Linked DNA regions of Homo sapiens: regions 1, 2, 4 and 5 are each linked to region 3. The links are contacts of gene promoters, found by promoter capture Hi-C in blood cells and fetal thymus (Javierre and others, 2016). All regions are on one chromosome and are shown on one strand. The core of a region is centred on a gene start or on the middle of the fragment in contact, and the rest is flanking DNA. Distances in the headings are between cores, read along the strand shown.

Region 1 (2,700 bases), core at 144-2,643, 820 kb after region 3:
CTTACTTAGCCTTTTTGTTCCATTCAGATTTTCAATTGATTGGATGAGGTCCACCTATATTAGGGAAGACAATCTACTTTATTTAATTTATATATTTAAATGTTAATTCCATTCAGATATACCCAGCATAATGTTTGATCAAATATCTGGGCACCCTTTGGCCCAGTCAAGTAGACATATAAAATTAATCATCACAATCCTGTACCCTCTTTGTCTTATCTCCTGGAAAGTGTTAATGATGGAAGAAAATAAGGAAAATCTCAAAACTGGTCTTTGAGGGCTTAGGGAAACAGAGGTTCTCCCACCTCACCTTTTCCAAAGAATACCAAACAGTGTAGGTATATTGGAGATTGGGTGGGAGCAAGCGTTATATCTGGGGACATTTTGTATCCCAAATACAAGTAATTCTTCTAGTTCTTACTGTTTCTTGATTGTTACTTATATTCCCAGTAAGAATTAAAGTTCCCTAAGGACAGGAAAGGAAATCCTTTCTCTCCTCACTCCCCCGACCATACCATTCACCCAAAGCTGAGCTTACTAAATGCTAAATAGTTCACAGACAAAGACCCTAGGTATCAGGCAGCGTTGCTACTTGAAACACTCATTGTGCTCATTAAGGGAGAATCATCTCCTTACTAGAACTCTATCCATAGAAGGTGTGTAAAATGCTTAAAGATTCTAAAACAGCTAATTTCTACTATAAGAAATGAAATTAAACAAATTCATAAGTGCATCACTTAAAGAAATTATTCTTTAAGTTAATGTGGTGTCTTTATCACAGGGATTCATACAGGAAACCATTTCCTACGTCTGAACCTTCACACCAAGAACAGAAATGAAAACAAACTCATGATAAATTCAAGGACATAATTCAATTTACGTGATAGGTAACAACTATTTTAACAAAGAAAAAAGAGTTTAACTGAAATAAATTATAACAATTATATAAGTTTAAACAAAACTTAACTTTAATAACTTTACTCTTTTCCTGCCAAAACAAGACCTTAGCTGTGTAGATGAATAAAATATATGCCATTAAAATATTATGATCATTTGTACATTTAAATTTTTCATCTTATTTTTACTGTAGCTGTATTTTATTTAAAATGCCCATTTATAATAAGAAAATTATTTTATTTCTTCTAGATATATATATAAGTTCAAAAAATATTGAAGACGCTCTACAGGTAACTTTGCTCTATATTTAGCAGAAAAAAGAATTTTGGAAAACGAAGTTGAGGACCACAATATGGAAAAAGTTACCACTTCAAATCCTTATGTTTGTGCTTAAAAAAGAAAATCAAAGACTTTGAATTCTGAGTGAAGCATGAGTCTCAGGGTAGCTAAATGCCTCAAAGATCACATCTGGGCACTTAAATTTTAAGAGCACAAAAGGAAGTTATGTGGAAATTCTTCTGAATGGAATACTAGCTACTTGGTTTCCAAGAGTGATCTTTGTCTAGCGCAGGTGGACACTTACTAAGAACTTGGAACGATGGAGTGTTAACACTGGTGTTTTGACCCCCTTCTGAACGTTAGCTCGTGTGTCTACATTATACCACTGGGGCCAAGGGAATGAGATACATAGGGAAGAATGGGACTTTGGGCCTTGGTGAAAACCTCTGAATTAGGATGTTCTCGAACGGTCAAGGTCAGGAAGTGCCCTTCTCTTCTGACTTGGGCTGTTCCTTGACTGTTCAGCTCTGACTGCTTTCCCACATTCATGGCCTCACTGTCTGGGGGCCGCCCTCTTTTCTCCCAGAGCCTGACCTTCATGAACCCATCCTGACGCTGACCCACATCCACTCATCTTGTGGGTCAGTCTGCTGGTATAGACTTTGATGAACCCAGCACTAGCTCCTTGCTGGAGGGTCCTAGCCCTTTCTGACAGTGCAGTGCCTCCTTGTGGTTGGGAACCCGGAGTGTTATTTTGTCAAGAAAAAGTGGAATCAGAGACTTTCCTTTGTTTCCCTATGTTTCCTACATAATGACATGGATATTACCCCACAGCAGCCTGAGATTGCCCAAGTAGGAGCATTCAGGCACTTCCAGACCACTTCCTGATGTGGCCACATCTGGGGCACAGTAAAACAAACCAAGTAAGGGAAAGAGCCATTCTAAAATTCTCCGTACAGGTGATTCTCTTTCTAACTGCTCATCTGGAGAGCTTGGCTAAATGAAAGATCATGGAACATCAGCTTTGACAGGACCCTTGAGATTTTATTGACCTCCTAATTTTATGGTTTAGAATATTAAGATCAAGAGAGAGAAATTTTCTAAAGCTCGGATGTCAGAGAGTGGTTGAGCTGGAATACTGGTCTGCATGACTTTCTGCCCAGTGCTCTCTCTGCTCTATAGGTGGCATATTGAAAGAGTTGTTGCCTTAAGAACACCATCAAGGCAATTTTGAACACTTGCATTTCTAATGAGCAAGGTACTAACTAAAATGTCACTTTGTCCAAGTACTTGTGTACTATTTTGTTGCCTCTCTCCAGGTAATGTGCTTAGATAGATGTTCTTCTTCCAGCAGATGGTGAGATGGGGGACTGATGTCCAGGCTAGGGATGGTGCACCTGGCTCTGTTGCTTTTGTAAAACCACAGAAGACAGAAACCTCTAGATTACTTTTAACTTCCTCCCCTTTTAAATAACTATATTTGTATTTCTAATACATGAAATAGTTAACTATGTAGAGGGAGAG
Region 2 (2,700 bases), core at 183-2,682, 920 kb after region 3:
CTCTGAAAAATAATGCCCACTTGCCAATCTGCCTTTGGTCACTGGATCAAGAAAAAGAAAAGTGTTCCTAAATTGATTCTCCAACCCCTTTCTCTCTGTGTGTGATGAGATTGTTCCTAAAAAATCTAAACTCCTATTTTTAGTCCCCCACCTTCAATAGAAACATGACTTGGTAACTCCAAGTGAACAAATCATTAATCATTGCATTAAATCCACATCCATTATCCCACATGTAAATGTCATGAAGGTGAATGTACACAGCTCTATGTAACTACATAGCTTAGAAACTAAGACAAACATATTCTTTTTATTAAGTTAGTAATCTGGATTTCAGGGGAAATTATTTTTTATGCAGACTTGTCAAGATTATACAAATAATCAATTTTCCAGGTAATTTACAATCTTCAGAGTGTGTGGGCCTTTGAAAATAAAAATTCATGTGTAATTCTCCCTGTGGCCTGAATTTTGAGTGCACCAAATCCATATTATCTAAAGACAATGCTCATTACATTACACACCCTTATATCACCAATATTTGACCACCACTCCACCCAGAACTTTCCATGGCCCTTTACTCCCAATTCCATTGAAACTAAATTTCTCAGTTTAGTTGTCATAGTTTTTCACAGTACTTCTCCAGTTGGATTCACCAATTCTCCAAAATATACCTGTTGTTTAAGTCAAGCAAATTTCCTCTATGTCTACAAATAAATCATGCTTACTCTAGAGTCTTTTCCTTGTATTTCTTCCTTTCATTTGAAAGATTTCTTCTAAACTTCAGATCCAGCTTAAGATGTAATTTATTGAAAGTTGCATTTTTCAACCAACACCCTCACATTCATCTTTTCTCCTTTGCCTTCGAACATCACTAATCCTCTGTATCACATGATTTAGTAATGACTTATGTTTCAAAAACTTACTCTTGTTTTGTACATTTGATTAAAGTCTCACAAAAATGAAAGCTTCATTTAAAAAACGTTTGTTCTCTGCTGTAATCTTAGCACCTAGAACAATACCTGGAACATGGGGAGGCTTGATAAATATTTATTGAAATAATAAATAATGATTAAACAAATGTCTTCTCAGTAGGACTTGGAATTTTTCAAGAACAGGGGCCACATTATCATCCTTTGATTTTTACTATCCACAGTCCACTGCTACACTGTCTTAGTCTATTTTCTGTTGCTTATAACTGAATACCTAAGACTGGGTAGAAATGAAAATGGATTTCTTACAATCAGGGAGGCTGAGATGTCCATGACTGAGGGGCTATATCTCGTGAGAGCCTCCTTGCTGGTGGGGACCCTCTTCAGAGTCCCAAGGTGGCATAGGGCATCACATGGCAAGGAGGCTGACTGTGCTAGCTCAGGTCTCTCTTCCTCTTCTTATAAAGCCACCAGTTTCATTCTCATGATTACCCATCAATCCATTCACACATTAATGCATTAGCCCATCAATGGATTAATCCATCCAGGAGGGCAGAGCCTTCATGACTCAATCACTTCATAAAGGCCCCACCTCTGAATACTGCCTCATTGTGGATTAAATTTTAACATGAGTTTTGGAGGGGATAAATTTTCAAACCATAATGCATGTACATCTCATTTACCAAGTACTCGATCTTCTGCAATGCTCAATGACTAATAAGTTACACAAAAGTTCAGCTACAGACTTAAGTTCTAGGTCAGACTTGAAGATAAATGCAATTGTAGTAGTCACTGCCTAAATTATTCCTGGGGGAAAAAAGGAAGAGACAGAAAAAGATCTATTAAGTTTGGAAAGATGCCTATCTTTTAAAATAGAAAGTAAGACCACTTGTCATTTAAGGAACATAGGTCTTTCTTAATTATCATGTTTCATACAATTATTGTTAGGCACAGTTATTTCTTCTCTATAGAGGACAAAGCTTATTAAATATAACATCTACTCAGATTTCCATGTAGATACATATCTCTAAAGTAAACAAGCCAGGCAAATATTATTATATCCACTGCACAGATGAAGAAACTAGTAAGATTGTCTTATCAAATGTTATATGGCTATGAAATGGTAGAGCTGAAACTAACACATTTTTTTTTTTTTTTTAGTTTGCCTCCCATATTTTTATGATGCCTTTTGAAAGCATTCTTAATGGTAAACATAAAGAAAATTTTGATGTCTACTCACTTTCCATTTTTTGGAATTTTCCCCTTTTGGTCTCCTTGCTACCCCTAGTGGACTCTACCTTCCTTCCCCTGATTCTCATGAGAATCTGATCTTCGCTAAAGTGGGCAAGGTAAATTGTGGCAATTCTAGTGTATCGAGGTGGTTTTCTGAAGCAGTAATCAGTGCATTATTACTAATTCTATGCTTCTTCATGGAACCATTACCTAAAAACCTAGATATTTTGGCTGGGAACAGTGGCTCACATCTGTAATCCCGCACTTTGGGAGGCCAAGGTGGGCGGATCACTTGAGGTCAGGAGTTTGAGACCAGCCTGGCCAACACGGTGAAACCCCATCTCTACTAAAAATACAAAAATTAGCCTGGTGTGGTGGTGGGCGCCTGTAATCCTAGCTACTCGGGAGGCTGAGGCACAAGAATCGCTTGAACCAGGGAGGCAGAGGTTGCAGTGAGCTGAGATCACGTCACTGTACACCAGCCTGGGCAATAGAGTGAGACTCAGTTTCAATTAAAAAAAAAAAACAAAAACCCAACAAC
Region 3 (2,700 bases), core at 193-2,692:
AATGCCAGTTATCCCTGCAAGAAACTCTTCTACCTCAATCTCAACGGAGAACATCCACTTATGTGGAATTACTTACCATTTGCACAAAGAAATCCTCACACCTCACTGCCAGGCAGCAGGAGGAAAGAACAAGGGTTAAAAGCAAGTGTTCTGGAGACAGACCACAAGCAAGTTTCTTAGCCTTCCTATGCCTCAGTTTCCTCGCGTTGTAAAACAGGGATGATAATAATGCCTACTCCACAGGGTTACTGTGTAGCTTCAATGACAGTTATAGGCAAGGACACTTCATTTTCATTTAAGACAAAAAGGAAAATCTGAAATGCTTGGCACAGCTCCTGGCATACAGATCTTCAATAATGCTGGGTGTTATTTTTATTCCTGTCTCTGTATGGAGCATGACCACTGGGTTCCAAAATGTATTCTACTTGGAAATCAGGCCACAGTCCCGTTAAGGATGGTGCTGAGTTTACTGGTGGCAGCGAGCTCCTTACCCCAGCAGAAAAGGGGCAGAGGCCGGGGGAAGGAGAACTTTTTTTAAAGGACTGATATGAGGTCCTTAGCTAGCAACTTCCCCCAGTGCTCAGGGGTTCTGAAGACACAGCTTGGTGCAAATTCACTTCTGACACAGGAAAAACAATTCAGAGGCCATGGATCTACTTCGGGGCGGTCCTCACGTAACGAAATGAAACGTTCAGAAACTGGTTTATTTATTTTTCTCTTGGGCCCATTTCTTTTTCGACATCCTTAGAGGACAGAAGGCAGCCCTCCCAGTTAGTTTCTCTTTCCCTCTCAACCCTGCAGCTTCCCGGCCGCCTCAAAGTGGCTTTTTGGACTCCTCTCAGCCTCAGCGGTTCCCAAGGTGACACCCTGAACCCCAGGGCGGTCCCTCGCGGCTCAGCCCCAGCCCGCAGTCCCCTCCCACACCGTGCCCAGGCCCTCCCCACCAGCCCGGCCCCCCGAGGCCCACACCTGGAGCATTTCCTGGCAGAAGGCGCGCACCGAGCGCAGCGAGGCGAGGTCCAGCTCCCGGACTATGAGCTCGCCCACCCCGCTGACGCCAGGCTCTGGGCCGCACTCCGCGGCCTGGCGGAGCTCGCGGCGGAGCTGACCCGCCGCCTCCTCGGCGCGCGCGCGGTCCCGGCAGCCCATGATCACCCGCGCTCCCAGGCGCAGTAGCTCGGCGGCCGTGGCGCGGCCCAGGCCGCTGTTCGCCCCGGTGATCAGCACAGTCTTCCCGTGCATGAGGCCGGGGTCCCCGCCTCTGCGCAGCCGCTGGACCCTGGGCCCCACGAACCGGCGGGCCGCCAGCCACAGCGCCCCGCCCAGAGCGGCCAGTACTGCCGCCGCAGTGGCCACTGCCATCGTCAGGCCCGAGGGCCCACCGGCCCCTCCACGGGAGTTCCGCAGCCGCCGCCTTACCGGAACCCAAGAGACCACCTGTACGCGGAGAACGCTGGGGCGCGGCGGGTCGGCCCCTGACGGTGCGCGTGGGGCATGCTGGGACTTGTAGTTTCCCTCTGGGGGGGTCGCCTGATTGGTTGTGAGAGTTCAGCGCCCTGGGTCCTGCGCCCTCCGTGGAAGCTCCTCCCAGCCTAATGATGGAGGCTGGGCAACCAGCACAGTGTTCAGGGTGCTGGGGTTCATACGTATTGAAATCCCAGAGTAGTGGCGGACTTCCCCATGGGAATGTCTGATGAGTACTTTGAATCACAGATCTCTGTACAGGCCCTGTTACAAATGCCACTCCTCAGGGCATTTCGTGTGTTTTCCTTTGAGGGCTCTTGGGACTTGTAAATTCAGTTCAATTCACCTTCTGAGGAATGGGCCCTGACAAGCTGAAGTCTGAGGTAGGACTGTTTTTCATAGATGAGACAAAGAATTAAGCAACATGAATCAGTTGGAAATAGAATGGTCGAGTAGTTCTCAAACTTAAATGCACATCAGAATCACCTGGAGGACTTGGGGTGGGGGTTCGGGGTGGGGGAATGAAACAAAACGAAAACAAAAAACCAGGGCCCCAGTATTAGAGTTTCTAATTCAATAGGTACAGGATGGGGCCTGATAATTTGCACTTTTAACAAGTTTCCAGGTGCTGCTGCTGCTGCAGATCTGGGAACCACACTTTGAGAACCACTGAACAAGACATTATGTCATTGGTCCCTATTAAAAAAAAGAAAGCCATCTTCAAATGATCTTCACACTGGCAGAGGTACAGTGGGAAAAGCTTGGACTTATTGTAAATATAGGCTTCTGAGCAGGCCATTTACAAATGCCTCCCTGCCCTCTCCATAGGACTATTACACACAACGATGGAAGGCAAAGTGCTTGGCTCACTGTAAAATGCCTCATTAATATCAGGGTTAGTGTCACAGGGACCCTTCTTCAAGCTACAAACTTCATAGCTGTAGACCAAGCTACTTTTAAAGACTCATTCGTTCGTCTGCCTCTCCATCCAATATGTGCCTGGCCCTGCCTGTTCCCTGTTAGAGCCACAGAGAAATGGGACACCATTTCTGCTCTCAGGGTGCTTACTTTCTGGAACTGTGATCTCCCACTTCCCACCCTCCACCCATTGCAGGTTCTCCAGACAAGGAAAAAGAACCACAGCTTGTGTCGTTTGAGACAAACTCCCCAATAATTGTGATAATCCATCTTCCACTCCCTTACATTTGGGAAGGATGTAACATGCAACTAATAGTC
Region 4 (2,700 bases), core at 58-2,557, 800 kb before region 3:
GTCAGTAAGTCTTGCCAGTTCTACCTCCAAAATATACTTTGTGTTCACAAACTTATCTCAGTGTCCAGAGGCACCACCTCAGTCTATGCCAACCTCATCTCTCATCTATACTCCTGAAGTGCCATCTTCACTAGTTTCTTGCTCTTGGCCTCCCCTACCCCAGACTATTTTCCACATAGCAATTAGAATAATCATAAATCTTTCTTGCTTAAAAATATTCAGTGGTTTGGCCGCGTGCAGTGGCTCACGCCTGTAATCCCAGCACTTTGGGAGGCCGAGGCAGGTGGATCACAAAGTCAGGAGTTTGAGACCAGCCTGGCCAAGATGGAGAAACCCCATCTCTACTAAAAATAAAAAAAAATTAGCTGGGTGTGGTGGCAGATGCCTGTAATCCCAGCTACTTGGGATGCTGAGGCAGGAAAATCACTTGAACCTGGGAGGTGGAGGTTGCAGTGAGCCGAGATCACACCACTGCACTCCAGCCTGGGCAACAGAGTGAGACTCCACCTCAAAAAAAAAAAAAAAATCAGTGGTTTTGGCCGGGCACAGTGGCTCACACTTGTATTCCTAGCACTTTGCGAGGCTGAGATGGGCGGATTATTTGAGCTCAGGAGTTCAAGACCAGCCTGGGCAACATGGTGAAACCCCATCTCTACAAAAAATACAGAAAATTAGCCGGGCATGGTGGCACACACCTGTAGTCCCAGCTGCTTGGGGACTGAGGCAGGAAGATCACTTGAGCCAGGAGATTGAGGCTGCACTGAGACAAGATCATGCCACTGCACTCCAGCCTGGGTGACAGAGTGAGACTCTGTCAAAGAAAAAGAAAATTCAGTGGTTTTCCACTCTAATTAAAGCTTAAGTAAAATGTTATTACATTAACGTTTTTGATACTAGTCTAATGTTCTTGCCTTTGTGTTATACTATTTTGACTTTTACTATCAGTGTTTGATGATTAATGTATTACTAATTTATATATTTCAGGAACTTATTTTTTCGTATCTCATATTTAACACAAATGGATGTAAAACTGGTATTTGTTATGGAAGGGGAACCACCAAAGCTGAAAGCTGATGTCATAAGCAAGAGGAATCAGTCTCGGTATGGGTCTTCTGGAAAATCGTGGTCTCAGAAAACAGGGAGATCACATTTTAAATCAGTCTTAAGAGAGGTGAGCATTCAGATTTGATTCAGTAATTCCGATTTGAATTAAAGGGTGCATTTTACTCTTAATAGTTTGTCATCTTTAATACTTATTAATTTTATTGTGACTAGCAGGGATGTGCCTAGAGAAAAGAGTTTATTTTTTAGAGTGAAATTGACCTGAGTTTCATTCTTGGCACTGGTATGTAGAAACTCTGAGACACTGAGCAAAATTTGTAACCTATCTCTACCTTGTATGTTACCTTGTGAAATGACAACAGTAATACTCAGCAGGGATGTGATAAAAATAAGAGAAAGTATATCTAAAGCAACTAGTACATGGTAGGAACTTGATCATATTACCTTTTATAACACCTTCAGGACTTAAAGAAGTCCCAGAATACATGAGATCTCATTAATTCGTACTTCACTCATTCAGAATTCATGATAGTTCATATACAGAATATATATTTGGCTTCCCTTAGGGCTTGTAATTTTAAAAACTGTCGTTACATTATAATATATTATTTATATGTTACTTTAATATTGCTATATTTTATATTTGTATGAAACTTAAGAAAGAAATCATCTATAGTATATAATTAAAACAATAGGAAGCTTTTTTTTTTCTGTTTTCTTTTTTTGGTTGTTTTTTTTTTTTTTTTGAGATGGAGTCTCGCTCTGTCACCCAGGCTGGAGTGCAGTGGCGCAATCTCGGCTCACTGCAAGCTCCGCCTCCTGGGTTCTCACCATTTTCCTGCCTCAGCCTCCCGAGTAGCTGGGACTACAGGCGCCCGCCACCACACCTGGCTAAGTTTTTTTTGTTTTTTTTTTAGTAGAGACAGGGTTTCACTGTGTTAGCCAGAATGGTCTCGATCTCCTGACTTCGTGATCCGCCTGCCTCGGCCTCCTGAAGTGCTGGGATTACAGGTGTGAGCCCCTGTGCCTGGCCTTTTTTGTCTGTTTTCAAATGTGTGTATTTTTAAAGAGTTGTAGTAGTACACATGATTTTTAACCTAGCCTTTTCACTTAATGCTTCATGTTGTCATATTTCCCTTTTGTCACATTCTAATCAAAATCATAACTTGTAGTGGTTGTGCAACATGTATGAAGCTATGAATCATACCCCTGATTGTATATGTTATTTACTTTTTTAGTTTTTCTCTACTATACATGGAAGTGTGATTAACATTTTTTGTGTATATAATGTTTTCTTGTGATTTGAAATTTTAGATAAAATTACCCAATGTTGGATTGATGGGTCAAAGTTTTGGAATGATTTTATTGCTCTTGCTGATTAATTTCTGCTAATGCAGATGTCAGAGAAGCAGTGTCGGTGCACTCACAAGAACATTGGATGTTAGGAGGCTTGTCTTTGTAATATTTAGTGTGCAACAACAAAGATATTTAATATGCATTTGTCTTTTAATAGTAATGTTAAACATTTCATCTATTTTTAGTCTCCCTTTGGGTAATGGCTATCATCATGTCCTTTACCTACTTACCTCTTGAGGTTTTAATTTTTCTTTTGTGCAAGTTCTTTATGTATTAAGGATA
Region 5 (2,700 bases), core at 72-2,571, 770 kb after region 3:
ACACACACATGCATATGTTGATGTATGCATGGGTGTATCTGTGCACATAAGTTTCCCTGGTACCTAATTATTGACTACCTAAAGGTGTCTAATTCTTCCCTGAATTCCTAAATTCTGGTAAAGTTTCAGGCACATAGAATGAAGCCAAGTATCTGAAAAGTGAATTTAAAGGCAGAGCATGTGCATAGAATTTTTGCCCAAACTGAAACAAGAATAACTCTCCCATGAGCCTTAGCCAGGAAGAGTCTAGCCTGTCTGTGTGCACAGCTCCAGAGTTGGGAGACATCACAGAACCACCAAACCTACCCCCTGCTGCTGCCAATAAGGGAGTTGGCCAGGAAACACTTTTCCATCAAGCACCACAAATAATTCATCCCACAGACTCCCATGATCACACCTTCTATGTGCCAGGCCCTCCAGCTATGAATAAGAAACCAATGTGGTTTAATTTATAACTGCTTTTTTTAAAATTCTGAAGAAAGCTGAATTCATAAAACAGGAGATAACAATGGAAATTATTTTTGCTGAATAACTACTGTGTGCCAGGTTAATTGCACACATTGTCCCATGTAAGCATTGCACCAACTGAGAGAAAGAAATCATTTTCTCCATCTCAGGAAACTCTAGGAAGATGTGACCCTCAGTCTGTGGGCCCCAAGGTGCGTGCTGTGAGATTGGGGATTGATTGCACCAGCATCCCTGTTCCACTCACTATCTGTTTCCATTTCTTCTGCAGTTCATCAGAGACGGTAACCCAATTTGAACACATATTACAATACAGTCTACTAATGTTTCTTCATAATAGAAAAACAGTAAAGATTTCCTGTCATAATACTAAATGCCACTTAAAGGAGTTACAGATGCTGAATCTGAGCAGATTAGCCAAGTTATGGTATAAACTCCAAGTTTCAGAACTGTATCCCTGAGGCAAAGTAAAATGTCCAGTGGTGGTTACCCCATTCCTCCACAAAAATAAAAAAAAACAGTTTTCTAAAATGTGATGCATATAAAATATTAAATTTCTTAAACTATGTTGGCTTTTGGCTGGTTGCATGTTTTCTGTTGGAGTTAATACCACATGTTAAGGTGTGGGAATTTAAGATAGGCATCTAAGACAGTGAGCCATTTAAGAAAACCAAAATTTAAAAACAGCAATGCTCTCCACACACTCCAACTTGTGTTACATTGCCTTTAGTCCTCACCGTTTGTTTTTTGTTTGTTTGTTTTTTGCTATGCAATGTGGAATCCTTGGCCACAGCTCTGGGCAATCAGAGCAGAGAAGCACATGCTGAACAAGTAATTGGTGTTGATGTGTGTCCTCTAGGCTCTGCTTTTTGGGAGGCCTTGCCAATGTCCTCATTGAGATCATTATCTTCCAGCTTTGTGCTTTGATCCCAGATCTGGAAAAAGTGTGCTTCCTAGGCTGCAGGCCTCCCCCATCCTATATCTCCCTCCTTATCTCAGAGCACTGTCACTGAGTCAAGAGTTGGATCGGCTTCTCACTGTTCATGATCTTTACATAATAGCTGACACATTAAATTATGATGTATCTTCACTGGGCTAAGCTCATTACATGAATGATTTTATTTATTCTTCACAATTCAATTATGCATATATTTTAATTACCCCATTTTACAAATAGTGAAACTAGAGCTATCCTAGAAGACAGATTCCACAAGGACTTTGTCTTACGTTGCTGTAATTCCAGGGCCTAGAACACTGCCTGTGTCTAAGTGCTCAAGAAGTAATCATTAAGTCGATGAATGAATGAATGAAGCCAAGGAAAATTAACTTAGTTGTCCAAGCCATACAACTAGTAAGTGTTGAGTCTGGAGAATATTTACGAAAGTGGGATTTCCTGTGTTCTTGTGTGATGCCCATGTTGACATTCCCCAGGCAGGTTCAAGATAGGAGTCAACTTGGCAGCACGGTGCAGGGCACAAGGCACAGGCTGGGAGGGACACAGGCCTGAGACCTGGGCTCAGTTCTGCAGCTTACTAAGTGACATTAGACAAATCACTTAACTTCTCTTAGCTTCAGATTCCTCATCTATAAAATAAGAACAATAATACTCACTTTTTAGTGTGCTTGTGTGGATTATAAGAGCTAAAATATGTGAAGTGCCTAGTGAAGTGTATTTTATATAGTATGTGTTCAACAATTTGTAGCTATTGTATAATGATTCTTAACCTTACCATACCCCAAAAAAGCACAGCATCACTTCTCCAAATCTAATCATGAGGACTTATTACACAGTCCCAAAGGTGGGACATTTTACCATATAATCAGCCTATCATCTTCAAAATTGTTGTGATTATGAAAGTCATGGAAAGACTAAGAAACAAGTTGAGACTGAAGGAGACTAAAGACACATGACAACTGAATGCAATATAAGATCATGACTTGGATCCTTTTTCTATAAAAGCCATTGTTAGGCAAATTGGTGAAACTTGAATGAGATCTGCAGGTTAGATGGCAGTAATATATCAGTGTTAATTTTCTGATTTTGATTTTGATAGTTGAATGGAAGTTTTTTTTGTTTTGTTTTTTGTTTTTTGAGACAGAGTCTCACTCTATCTCCCAGGCTGGAGTACAGTGGAGTGATCTCTCGGCTCACTGCAGCCTCCATCTCCTGGGTTCAAGCAATTCTCCTGCTTCAGCCTCCTGAGTAGCTGAGATTACAGGTGCCTGCTACCACGC

What was found. The method cuts DNA at HindIII sites, captures the fragments that hold promoters and counts their contacts. A CHiCAGO score of 5 or more calls a contact.
Region 1: a fragment that was not itself captured here is called in contact with the fragment with the promoter of RDH14 in region 3 in 3 of 17 cell types (total CD4 T cells, naive B cells and naive CD8 T cells); the score reaches 6.3 in total CD4 T cells.
Region 2: a contact is called between a fragment that was not itself captured here and the fragment with the promoter of RDH14 in region 3, in 1 of 17 cell types (total CD4 T cells). The highest score is 5.5, in total CD4 T cells.
Region 4: a contact is called between a fragment that was not itself captured here and the fragment with the promoter of RDH14 in region 3, in 2 of 17 cell types (non-activated CD4 T cells and total CD8 T cells). The highest score is 5.7, in non-activated CD4 T cells.
Region 5: a fragment that was not itself captured here is called in contact with the fragment with the promoter of RDH14 in region 3 in 2 of 17 cell types (total CD4 T cells and total CD8 T cells); the score reaches 7.2 in total CD4 T cells.

Annotation. Positions count from the first base shown.
Region 1 is chr2:19,376,024-19,378,723 of GRCh38, forward strand. No RefSeq gene overlaps it. Among named protein-coding and RNA genes, the nearest start is that of OSR1, 19 kb to the left of the region's middle. The HindIII fragment of the contact is 5,929 bases long and covers 1-2,700 here.
Region 2 is chr2:19,477,010-19,479,709 of GRCh38, forward strand. It overlaps LINC01808 (long intergenic non-protein coding RNA 1808), which reads left to right. Exons shown (of 6, transcript NR_183418.1): 3 at 2,215-2,275. Among named protein-coding and RNA genes, the nearest start is that of LINC01808, 9.4 kb to the left of the region's middle. The HindIII fragment of the contact is 944 bases long and covers 961-1,904 here.
Region 3 is chr2:18,559,211-18,561,910 of GRCh38, forward strand. It overlaps RDH14 (retinol dehydrogenase 14), which reads right to left and starts at 1,443. Exons shown (of 2, transcript NM_020905.4): 1 at 970-1,443. The coding sequence starts at 1,362. The region is part of intron 10 of NT5C1B-RDH14 (NT5C1B-RDH14 readthrough); the gene reads right to left. It overlaps LOC105373456 (a long non-coding RNA gene), which reads left to right and starts at 966. Exons shown (of 6, transcript XR_007086234.1): 1 at 966-1,481. RefSeq lists enhancers at 603-652, 1,463-1,512, 1,573-1,622, 1,633-1,852 and a silencer at 863-1,372. The HindIII fragment of the contact is 4,929 bases long and covers 1-2,222 here.
Region 4 is chr2:17,760,412-17,763,111 of GRCh38, forward strand. GEN1 (GEN1 Holliday junction 5' flap endonuclease) reads left to right here. Exons shown (of 14, transcript NM_001130009.3): 3 at 985-1,171. Among named protein-coding and RNA genes, the nearest start is that of GEN1, 7.6 kb to the left of the region's middle. The HindIII fragment of the contact is 904 bases long and covers 856-1,759 here.
Region 5 is chr2:19,331,346-19,334,045 of GRCh38, forward strand. No RefSeq gene overlaps it. Among named protein-coding and RNA genes, the nearest start is that of MIR4757, 16 kb to the right of the region's middle. The HindIII fragment of the contact is 9,961 bases long and covers 1-2,700 here.